Regions from separate parts of the Homo sapiens genome. Here region 1 is linked to region 2. The links are contacts of gene promoters, found by promoter capture Hi-C in human tissues and cell types (Jung and others, 2019). All regions are on one chromosome and are shown on one strand. The core of a region is centred on a gene start or on the middle of the fragment in contact, and the rest is flanking DNA. Distances in the headings are between cores, read along the strand shown. Region 1 overlaps SUDS3 (SIN3A corepressor complex component SDS3). Region 2 holds the start of PEBP1 (phosphatidylethanolamine binding protein 1).

Region 1 (4,434 bases), core at 446-2,945, 260 kb before region 2:
ACGTGTCCTCATCTAGAGAATAGAAGTATCAATAATGCCTCCCCCACAGTGCGCCGTGAGGGTTACATGTGATGATATGTGTGAAATCTTAGCACAGTGCCTGGCGTAACGGGAGTTCTATCAATGCTAGTTTTTATTATTATATTTTCAGGCAGGAAAAAACTATACAAAGATCCTTTTTAAAACTCAAGGCACAAAGAGCTGAAAAAAAGTTACATAGTCGAAAGCAGCTGATGTCAACTGTGAGGCTGTGCAACACTGACACCTAATTTGGAAAATAAAGTGTAAAGGGAGCTCACCCAACCCAAGAGAGCACCAAAGGAAAAGCACATAGCCCATGAACATTATGGAATGTTCTGTCTGCCAAAGAGAGTGGCTGAGTGTGCTCTGCTCCACAGGCTGCCAAGACTGGGGAGTGGGGAGGGTGGACAATGCATGATGGATGTAAGCCAAGTAAAGGCCAATCACGGCCACTGAACTCTGAAAATCATAACTGTATCACTTACAAACCAAAAAATACAATCAAATTCTTATGAAATGGTAAAAAAAAAAAAATCTATTTTATTAGCCTGGTCACAGCAACAATCTGATTAATTTTATCCAAAAGACTGCTTTGCAGAAGGAAGAGACTCTGGAGAAGCCCCTAAAACTTATCAGCATGTCTCCATCTCCATCTAGGAAAGAGGAGACAGAAGGGAGCAGTCCTGGCCAATAGCCCAGGTGGAAAACATGATTTGAGGCCATGATCAACATGTATCACAGCCCCAACAGACACAGTAAGATTATCCACTTAAGTCACCTTGCTCCAACGCCAGGTTGGTCTAGTTGGCTTTTACGGTGGATTTTTCATAGAAGGATGGAGTCTGACAACCCAGGTCTGAGTGCACCTGGAAGTTCTATTTCTCACTGTAAGCAACGAGCTGGTATCCTGAGTTTTACCATCAATCTCCTATGACTGGGACTCTAAGAGTCCCAAGACGCTCAATCTGGCTACACTGACAAAAATCAAACTTCCAGAACTGAAGCTCAGACCCTGGGGTGTGACAACCCCAGAGAAGACACCTGAGCAGGGATTCAGTCAGGCTTCCTCTCCGACATCATGCACCAACCATAAAAAAACTCGAACTGGCTGAAATTAGAAACCCTCTCTGATCCAGAGGTCTCCTCATAGGTTTGCTTCAGTGGAGATACTATTTTATCATTAAACATCAAGCACTTAAAGCAGACTTGAGAGAGCGTTATGTGAGAAAAAACATCAAACAAGCAACAAGACTAGGCATATAACTCCTCTCCAAACCACCCTGCAATATGACTTTTAATAGTGCAAATCCTCCTGTTCTACTCACTAGGAAACCTGATGGATACAGGAACCCCCTCACCCCTCACCACAGGGAGCACAGATTCCGACATCTAAAAAATGGGAGCTCAGGTTGAAGCAATGCTAGGTGGTAGAGTCATTATAGCACAGTCCCTCTGGAGAGATATTCTTGATAAATTAATTACCTGCAATTTACATACAATTACCAGTTTACTGGCTGGCCTTTTGCTGTGCACTTCTCTAGGCCCATTCATTCATTTCCAACAGCATACCTGCCTATAGTGTACAACGGCAGGAAAAGCTTCAATGCAACATACTTTAACTATTAAAACAAGCTCATATTTATCTATTGGGAAAAATATTAATTGCAGTGATTCAAAGGGTCATCCTTAAAAAATGGGATATAAGGCTGGGTGCAATGGCTGACGCCTGTAATGCCAGCACTTTGGGGGGGCCAAGGAGGGTGGATTGCTTGAGCCCAGGAGTTCAAGACCAGCCTGGGCAACAGAGCAAAACCCCATCTCTACAGAAAAATACAAAAAACTAGCTGGGCTAGGTGGCAGGTGCCTGTAGTCCCAGCTACTTGGGAGGCTGAGGTGGATCATTTGAGCACAGGAGGCAGAGGTTGCAGTGAGCTGAGATCGTGCCACTGCACTCCAACCTGGGTGGCAGAGCAAGACCCCGTCTCAAAAAATTAAATGTACTTTAAATTTAAAAAGGAAATTTTCTTTAAAAAGAAATGGGATATAACTGGCAGAAAGAAAATCCACTGCAGAGTAAACATTATAGCAGATTGGCAATTACCTCCAAACCAGGGCAGGGACCCATAGGCTAGACTAGCAGCCCAGAGCAATCCTAGCAGACATCATGCCCTTCTCTAGCAGGATGGAGGGCGCCATCAATGTTGACACAAATTAATGCTGCGGTGGTAACAGAAGAGCGCCTAAGGTTTGTGGGGGTGGGGAATAAGAATGAATGTTAGGGCTGGGCACGGTGGTTCATGTCTGTAATCCCAGCACTTTGGGCAGATCACCTGAGGTCAGGAGTTCGAGACCAGCCTGGCCAACAAGGTGAAACCCCGTCTCTACTAAAAAGTATAAAAATTAGTCAGGCATGGTGGCACGCACCTGTAGTCCCAGCTACTCGGGAGGCTGAGGCAGGAGAATCGCTTGAACCCAGGAGGCAGAGGGTACAGTGAGCCAAGACCGTGGCACTGCACTTCAGCCTGGGTGACAGAGCTAGACTACGTCTCAAAATCAATCAATCAATCAATCCACAAGAATTAATGTTAGGTCTTTGGAGGCCAAATCAGAGTAGGAATAAAGGGACCAATCTCTTTAAAGCCAAAGTTGGCCATTATGAAGGGAGAGCAATAAACAGTGAGCCAGTCGAGCCTTCCTCTCTGCACCCTCAAGCACATTAAAAGACCTGATTCTGGCCGGGCGTGGTGGTTCACACCTGTAATCCCAGCACTTTGGGAGGCTGAGGAGGGCAGATCACGAGGTCAGGAGATCGAGACCATCCTGGCTAACACAGTGAAACCCCATCACTACTAAAAATACAAAAACATTAGCTAGGCGTGGTGGTGGGTGCCTGTAGTCCCAGCTACTCAGGAGGTTGAGGCAGGAGAATGGCGTGAACCCGGGAGGCGGAGCTTGCAGTGAGCCGAGATCGCGCCACTGCACTCCAGCCTGGGGGACAAAGCGAGACTCCGTCTTAAAAAAAAAAAAAAAAAAAAAAAAAAACCCTGATTCCACAATGCCAGCACCAGGAAAGAACATCTTGAGGAAAGGCCCACTCTGCCCAAAATCCAGGTCACCTCTTCCATTCTCCCTCTCCAGATATTTGTGTGGGGCCTCTTCCTCTTGTCTTGACACCCAAATAGCTACTCATTAGCATCTATTGCATACGCGTGAAACTTACTGCTCCTATAGTAGTACAACCACATATATCTTAGGGTTTTAAAATGAGTAAAAAAGCCAGATGTAGTAGCTCACTCCTGTAATCCCAGCACTTTGGGAGACCAAGGCAGGCAGATTGCTTGAGCCTTGGAATTCAAGACCAGCTACGCAACATGGCAAAACCCTATCTCTACAAAAAGTACAAAAATGAGCCAGGTAAGGTGGCACATGCCTGTAGTCCCAGCTACTCAGGAGGCTGAGGTGGGAGAATCACCTGAGCCTGGGAAGTCGAGCTGCAGTGAGCCCCGATGGCACCATTGCACTCCACCCTTGGCAACTGGAGTGAGACCCTGTCTTTAAATAAATCAATGAGTCAAAAACAAGCCTGTCAAATTGTTACCTTTATTTAGGGGCCCTCCATCTCAACACATTACCTTGGGGAAGTCAAGGAAGCTGTGTCAGCTTTCTAACTACCAGAAAATAGCCTCCTAGAAGACACAGACTTTATCCATTAGCCTGATTTTGTGAGTCACTTAGTGCCACCACATGTATCTATGGTATCTGCAGAGAGTCAGTAGTAGTGGTGGTGAAGAGAATATGCTTGGAGTGAGACAGACACTGGCTGAACCACTATCTATCTCACTGAGGGACTGTGAGCAAATGGCTCCACTTCTCTGAGCCACCTCTGCCATTTATAAAATCAGAAGCGATACCCCCAAGGTCAAAGGGAGCTGCGGGAACTCAGTGAGTTCCCAATCCCTGAGTGTTCACTCTGTAAACCAGCTACTTTGTGAAGCAACTTATAGGCATTATCTCATCTCACGTCACATCTACCCTCTGCAGTAGGTTCTATCATCCCCTTGCCAAATGAGAAAACCCTACCTCAGATTTAAATCTGTGACAGTGCCAGGATTCAGCCCTGGACCATCAGCCTGCAAAGTTAGCTCTAATATATTTATGTAATGCTTGGCTCAGTGTAAGTGCTTGGGAAACAGACTTCTATTTTGACATTGTAATGACTTGTGGTATCAGCTATCAACCAGCAGGATCAGCGACCCCTGGGGAAGGTGGTTAGAAATGCAGGATCTCAGCCGGGGCACGGTGGCTCACACCTACAATCCCAGCACTTTGGGAGGCTGAGGCAGGCGGATCACCTGAGGTCAGGAGTTCAAGACCAGCCTGGCAAACATGATGAAACCCTGTCTCTACTAAAAA
Region 2 (4,560 bases), core at 798-3,297:
TCTCGTCTTTCTCACCTCTCACCTGTATTTGGGATCCTTCCTGCTGGGAGCATCCGGGTCTGTCAGGACCAAGGTGTAGAGCTTCCCTGAATCAAGACCATCCCACGAAATGCTGGTGGGTCTATTCTTAACCTGTATGAAGGAACCAGTTTGCAGTAAAAAAGTCAGAAATGCTGAAGAAACTGGCTGGGTGTGGTGGCTCACGCCTGTAATCCCAGCACTTTGGGAGGCCTAGGAGAGAGGATCACTTGAGGTCAGGGGTTTGAGACCAGCCTGGCCAACACGGTGAAACCTGCCTCTACTAAAACTACAAAAATTAGCTGGGCATGGTGGCGGGAATCTGTAATCCCAGCTACTCGGGAGGCTGAGGTGGGAGGATCACTTGAGCTGGGGAGGCAGAGGCTGCAGGCGGCCAAGATCACCCCACTGCACTCCAGCCTGGGCGACAGAGTGAGACTCTGTCTCAAAAACAAGAAATGCTGAAGAAACCAATACTCTTTCTTTGATCTCAGACTCTCCAAAGACAAAACAGAATAGATTTTTAATAAAATCAATGACCCTGTATTGACTGTAAGAGCCAGGAGCTGGAGTTTTATATACGTTATGTATTTTATTTGAGACCAGGTCTCCTTCTGTCACTCAGGCCGGAGTGTAGTGACGCTATCAAGGCTCACTGTAGCCTCAACCTCCAGCGCTCAATCGATCGATCCTCCCACCTCAGCCTCCTGAGCAGCTGGGAACTACATGCTCACACCATCACACCTGGCCAATTTTTTTTTGTAGAGTTGGGGTCTTGCTATGTTGCCCAGGCTGTATATTATTTCAGTCCCAACAACACCATGGGGCTAGTATCCCAGCACACTATTAAGAGAAACAGATAAGGCTGGGATTCCAACCCTGGCACTGAGTCCCCTCTCAACGACACCCTTACATTGTCTGTCCGGAATCACAGCGTTTCTGGATTTGGTGATCAGGAGGTTACCTGGAGCCTGCTGAAGTGAAATCTGCATTAACTGTACGTTTCAAAGTGCAAAGAAAAGGAGAAAGCCAAGGTGATGAGAGGCGGGCAGGGAGCAGGAAAAGGGAGGCTGTGTTAGATGGGCACTACATATTTAAACATCCAAAAAAATTAAATTCTGTGAACATCCAAAACAATGTAAGGTCGGGGCAGTTTATTTTACGCTGTTGCCCGGAGCTTCATAACCAACTAGCAGTGGCGTCTGCAAATCTAGTTTCTTCACTTTCGGCAGCCCCAGCCGTGGGCGTGGGAGGTCAAAGACCAAAACTAAACCGTTGCCCTCCAGCGTACCGGCTGGACGCTCTCGACCCATTTAACAAAGGAGAAATCGGCCGGCGCGCTCATCGCCAGTTACATAATGCGTCACAGGCTCTCGGGTGAGGCTTCAGCCCTCCAAAACCAGGCCTAAAATGCTGAGGCCCTAGGGGAAGCTCTGGGGGCGTCCGGGCAGCCACAGCCTACTCTGTCCCGGCGACGTCCCTCTCCAGCGCCCTGGCCTGTGGGGGGAGAGGGGGATCCGGCCTGTTTCCGAACCTAGGTCCCTCTTGGGTCTGAAGCCCGGGAAAAGTGAATGAATTTCTGCCGCAGGCCGAACCTGCCTGGCCACGCCACAGGCCGGGTTCCCGGTGCTCGGGGTGGCCCCCAGGCATGGGACATGGACCCCGGGACCTCTGGCCTGGGGGGGCCTCGACACACGCAGGCTGAACCTCCCCACCGCCCCTGGCCCTGTCTCCGCTGGGTCCCACCCAGGAGGCCGGCACAGGCCTCCGCGCCGTGCCGCTCGCTGCACGCCCGCCGCCCGGTGTACCTGGGTGGGCGTCAGCACTTTGCCCAGCTCGTCCACCGCCGCCCCGGCGTAGGTGACATGCAGCGGGTGCTGCGGCTGCTCGTCCACTTCTTGCAGGCTCAAGGGCCCGGACCACTTGCTGAGGTCCACCGGCATGGCGAGGCCAAGCAGAGCGTGCAGCCGGGAGTGCCGCGGTAGGCCAGGCGCGGGCGACAGAGGCGACGCGGAGAGCTCAGCACACTGGCTCGGGAAGACGCAGACCCAGCGACCACGCGAGAGCACGCGCCTCAGCCGCCGCCCAGCCCCGCGCACCGCCCCACGTCACGCCCACCGCTCCCTGGCCTCTGATTGGCCGAAGCTGGCAGAGCAGGGCCTCTCGCGCTCCTGGGTCCATGCAACCTGCTCCCTGTGGCTGCCGAGTTCTCGGGAACAGCGGCTCGGCCTGCAAGGCTGTTGTTTCAAGAAATGAAAATGAAGGGCGCCCTGGAATAGGTTCGCCGAAGAGAGAGGTTCGTGTCTCAGAAAGTGTCGCTGGGAAAAAAAAATGCAATTGAATTCGCCTTGGTTGCGTTTTGGTTTTCTTAATTTTTTGCATGATTCTTTGCTCCACTTTCCAAATTCAGCAACATGGCCTGTCGCGGTGGCTCATGCCTGTATTCCCAGCACTTTGGGAGGCCAAAGCAGGAAGATCGCTTGAGCCCAGGAGTTTGAGACCATCCTGGACAAGGTAGCAAGACCCCGTCTTTACAGAAAACTTAAAAAAAAAGAAAAAAAGAAAAAAGCCAGACACAGTGGTGCATGCTTGTAGTCCTAGCTACTCCGGAGGCTGGGGCGGGAGGATCACTTTTTTTTTTTTTTTTTTTTGAGACGGAGTCTCTCTGTGTTGACCAGGCTGGAGTGCAGTGGCGTGATCTCGGCTCACTGCAAGCTGCGCCTCCCGGGTTCACGCCATTCTCCTGCTTCAGCCTCCCGAGTAGCTGTGACTACAGGCGCCCGCCACCACGCCCGGCTAATTTTTTGTATTTTTAGTAGAGACGGGATTTCACCGTGTTAGCCACGATGATCTTGATCTCCTGACCTCGGCCTCTCAAAGTGCTGGGATTACAGGCGTGAACCACCACGCCCGGCCGATCACTTCTTGAATCTAGGAGTTTGAGGCCGCGGTGAGCTACGATCTTGCCACTGCACTCCTGTCTGCGCTTCAGAGCCAGATCCCATCTTCTCATACACACACACACACACACACACACACACACACACACACACAGCAAATTCAGAAACAGTAAGGCCTTGCTTTTCTCCTGCACTTTAAAACGAGCCAGATTCTCTGTATTTTCGCACGTGATCACTTGTCATAGTAATTGCCTGGTGAGAGCACCTGAGTGAACTTTTGAGCATTTAAATATATGGGGAAATGTATTTGTCCGTTTTCTCCACACACAAAATTCGTCCTCACAAAATTCCTGAGAAATGTTTGGGTTTTGGTTTTTTATGTTTGTTTTTTGAAAAACAATTTTAAACCATATTTATTCATACCAAAACTGCTCTTACTGTGACCACAAGCTGCTTGCTTTTTGCTGAATATGATAAGCACTATTTTTTTTTTTTTTTTTTGAGACGGAGTCTTGCTCTGTCGCCCAGGCTGGAGTGCAGTGGCGTGATCTCAGCTCACTGCAACCTCTGCCTCCCGGGTTCAAGCAATTCTCCTGTCTCAGCCTCCCGAGTAGCTGGGATTACAGGCAGGCGGCACCGCGCCCAGCTAATTTTTGTATTTTTAGTAGAGACAGAGTTTCACCATGTTGGCCAGGCTGGTCTCGAACTCCTGACCTCATGATTCGCCTGCCTCAGCCTCCCAAACTGCTGGGATTACAGGCAATAAGCCACCGCGCCCAGCCAATAAGCACTATTTAACAGTTCTTATCTGTTTTGACTCTTGACATTGATAATTCCTCCCATGGAATAAAAAGTTGTCTCTTGATTTACATTCTTACTAGGAAATAATACGAGTTCATTGTAGAAAATCAAAGAAAAAAACCCAAAGAAGTAGAAATCCCCTTCTATCCCACTACTTTGTTATAAACGTCAGTAATCATTTAGGGTATATCTTTCCTATTTAAAAATAATATGAGTATAGATGATTTTGTTGTTTATTCACCAAAAGATTGCATTATATCCTACCATTATAAAATAGTCATATCAAAAATAGGTCGTCAGGCCAGGTGCGGTTGCTGAGGCCTCTAATCCTAGCACTTTGGGAGGCTGAGGCAGGAGGATCACTTGAGTCCAGGAGTTTGAGACCAGCCGGGACAACATGGTGAAACCCCATCTCTACAACAAAATACAAAAATTAGCCCGGTATGGAGGGATGTGCCGGTAGTCACAGCTACTACCAAGGCTGAGGCAGGAGGATCACTTGAGCCTGGGAGTTTGAGGCTGCAGTGAGCCGTGATTGTGCCACTGCACTCCAGCCTGGGCGACAGAGTGAGACCCTATCTCTACAAAAATAAAGCAAAATAAAAAAAGTCTTCAACATTTTAATGACTTCTCTAGATGCACCATCATTTATTCAACAAGCCTCTTGATGTACTCTGTTTTGTTCATTGTTTTCCTTTTACAAATATCACTGAAATGAACTTCCTTATACATATATCTTTAAAAACTTGAAAGACTGTTTTTGGAAAATTTTATTACATGGGAACTTTTATTAATTAGGTCAAAAAATACACACTTTATTTTTTGTTTGTTTTGAGACAGT

Evidence for each region. Contacts are between HindIII fragments. The study calls those that stand out against the background at their distance.
Region 1: a contact is called between a fragment that was not itself captured here and the fragment with the promoter of PEBP1 in region 2, in 1 of the 25 tissues and cell types used here (H1 embryonic stem cells).

The regions. Positions count from the first base shown.
Region 1 is chr12:118,393,846-118,398,279 of GRCh38, reverse strand. All of the region lies in intron 6 of SUDS3 (SIN3A corepressor complex component SDS3), which reads right to left. Among named protein-coding and RNA genes, the nearest start is that of SUDS3, 20 kb to the right of the region's middle. The HindIII fragment of the contact is 8,830 bases long and covers 1-4,434 here.
Region 2 is chr12:118,133,611-118,138,170 of GRCh38, reverse strand. PEBP1 (phosphatidylethanolamine binding protein 1) reads right to left here and starts at 2,047. Exons shown (of 4, transcript NM_002567.4): 1 at 1,827-2,047; 2 at 23-132. The coding sequence starts at 1,961. It overlaps LOC101928274 (a long non-coding RNA gene), which reads left to right and starts at 2,179. Exons shown (of 4, transcript XR_945409.4): 1 at 2,179-2,314. RefSeq lists a silencer at 1,670-1,759 and an enhancer at 1,752-2,252. The HindIII fragment of the contact is 8,253 bases long and covers 1-4,560 here.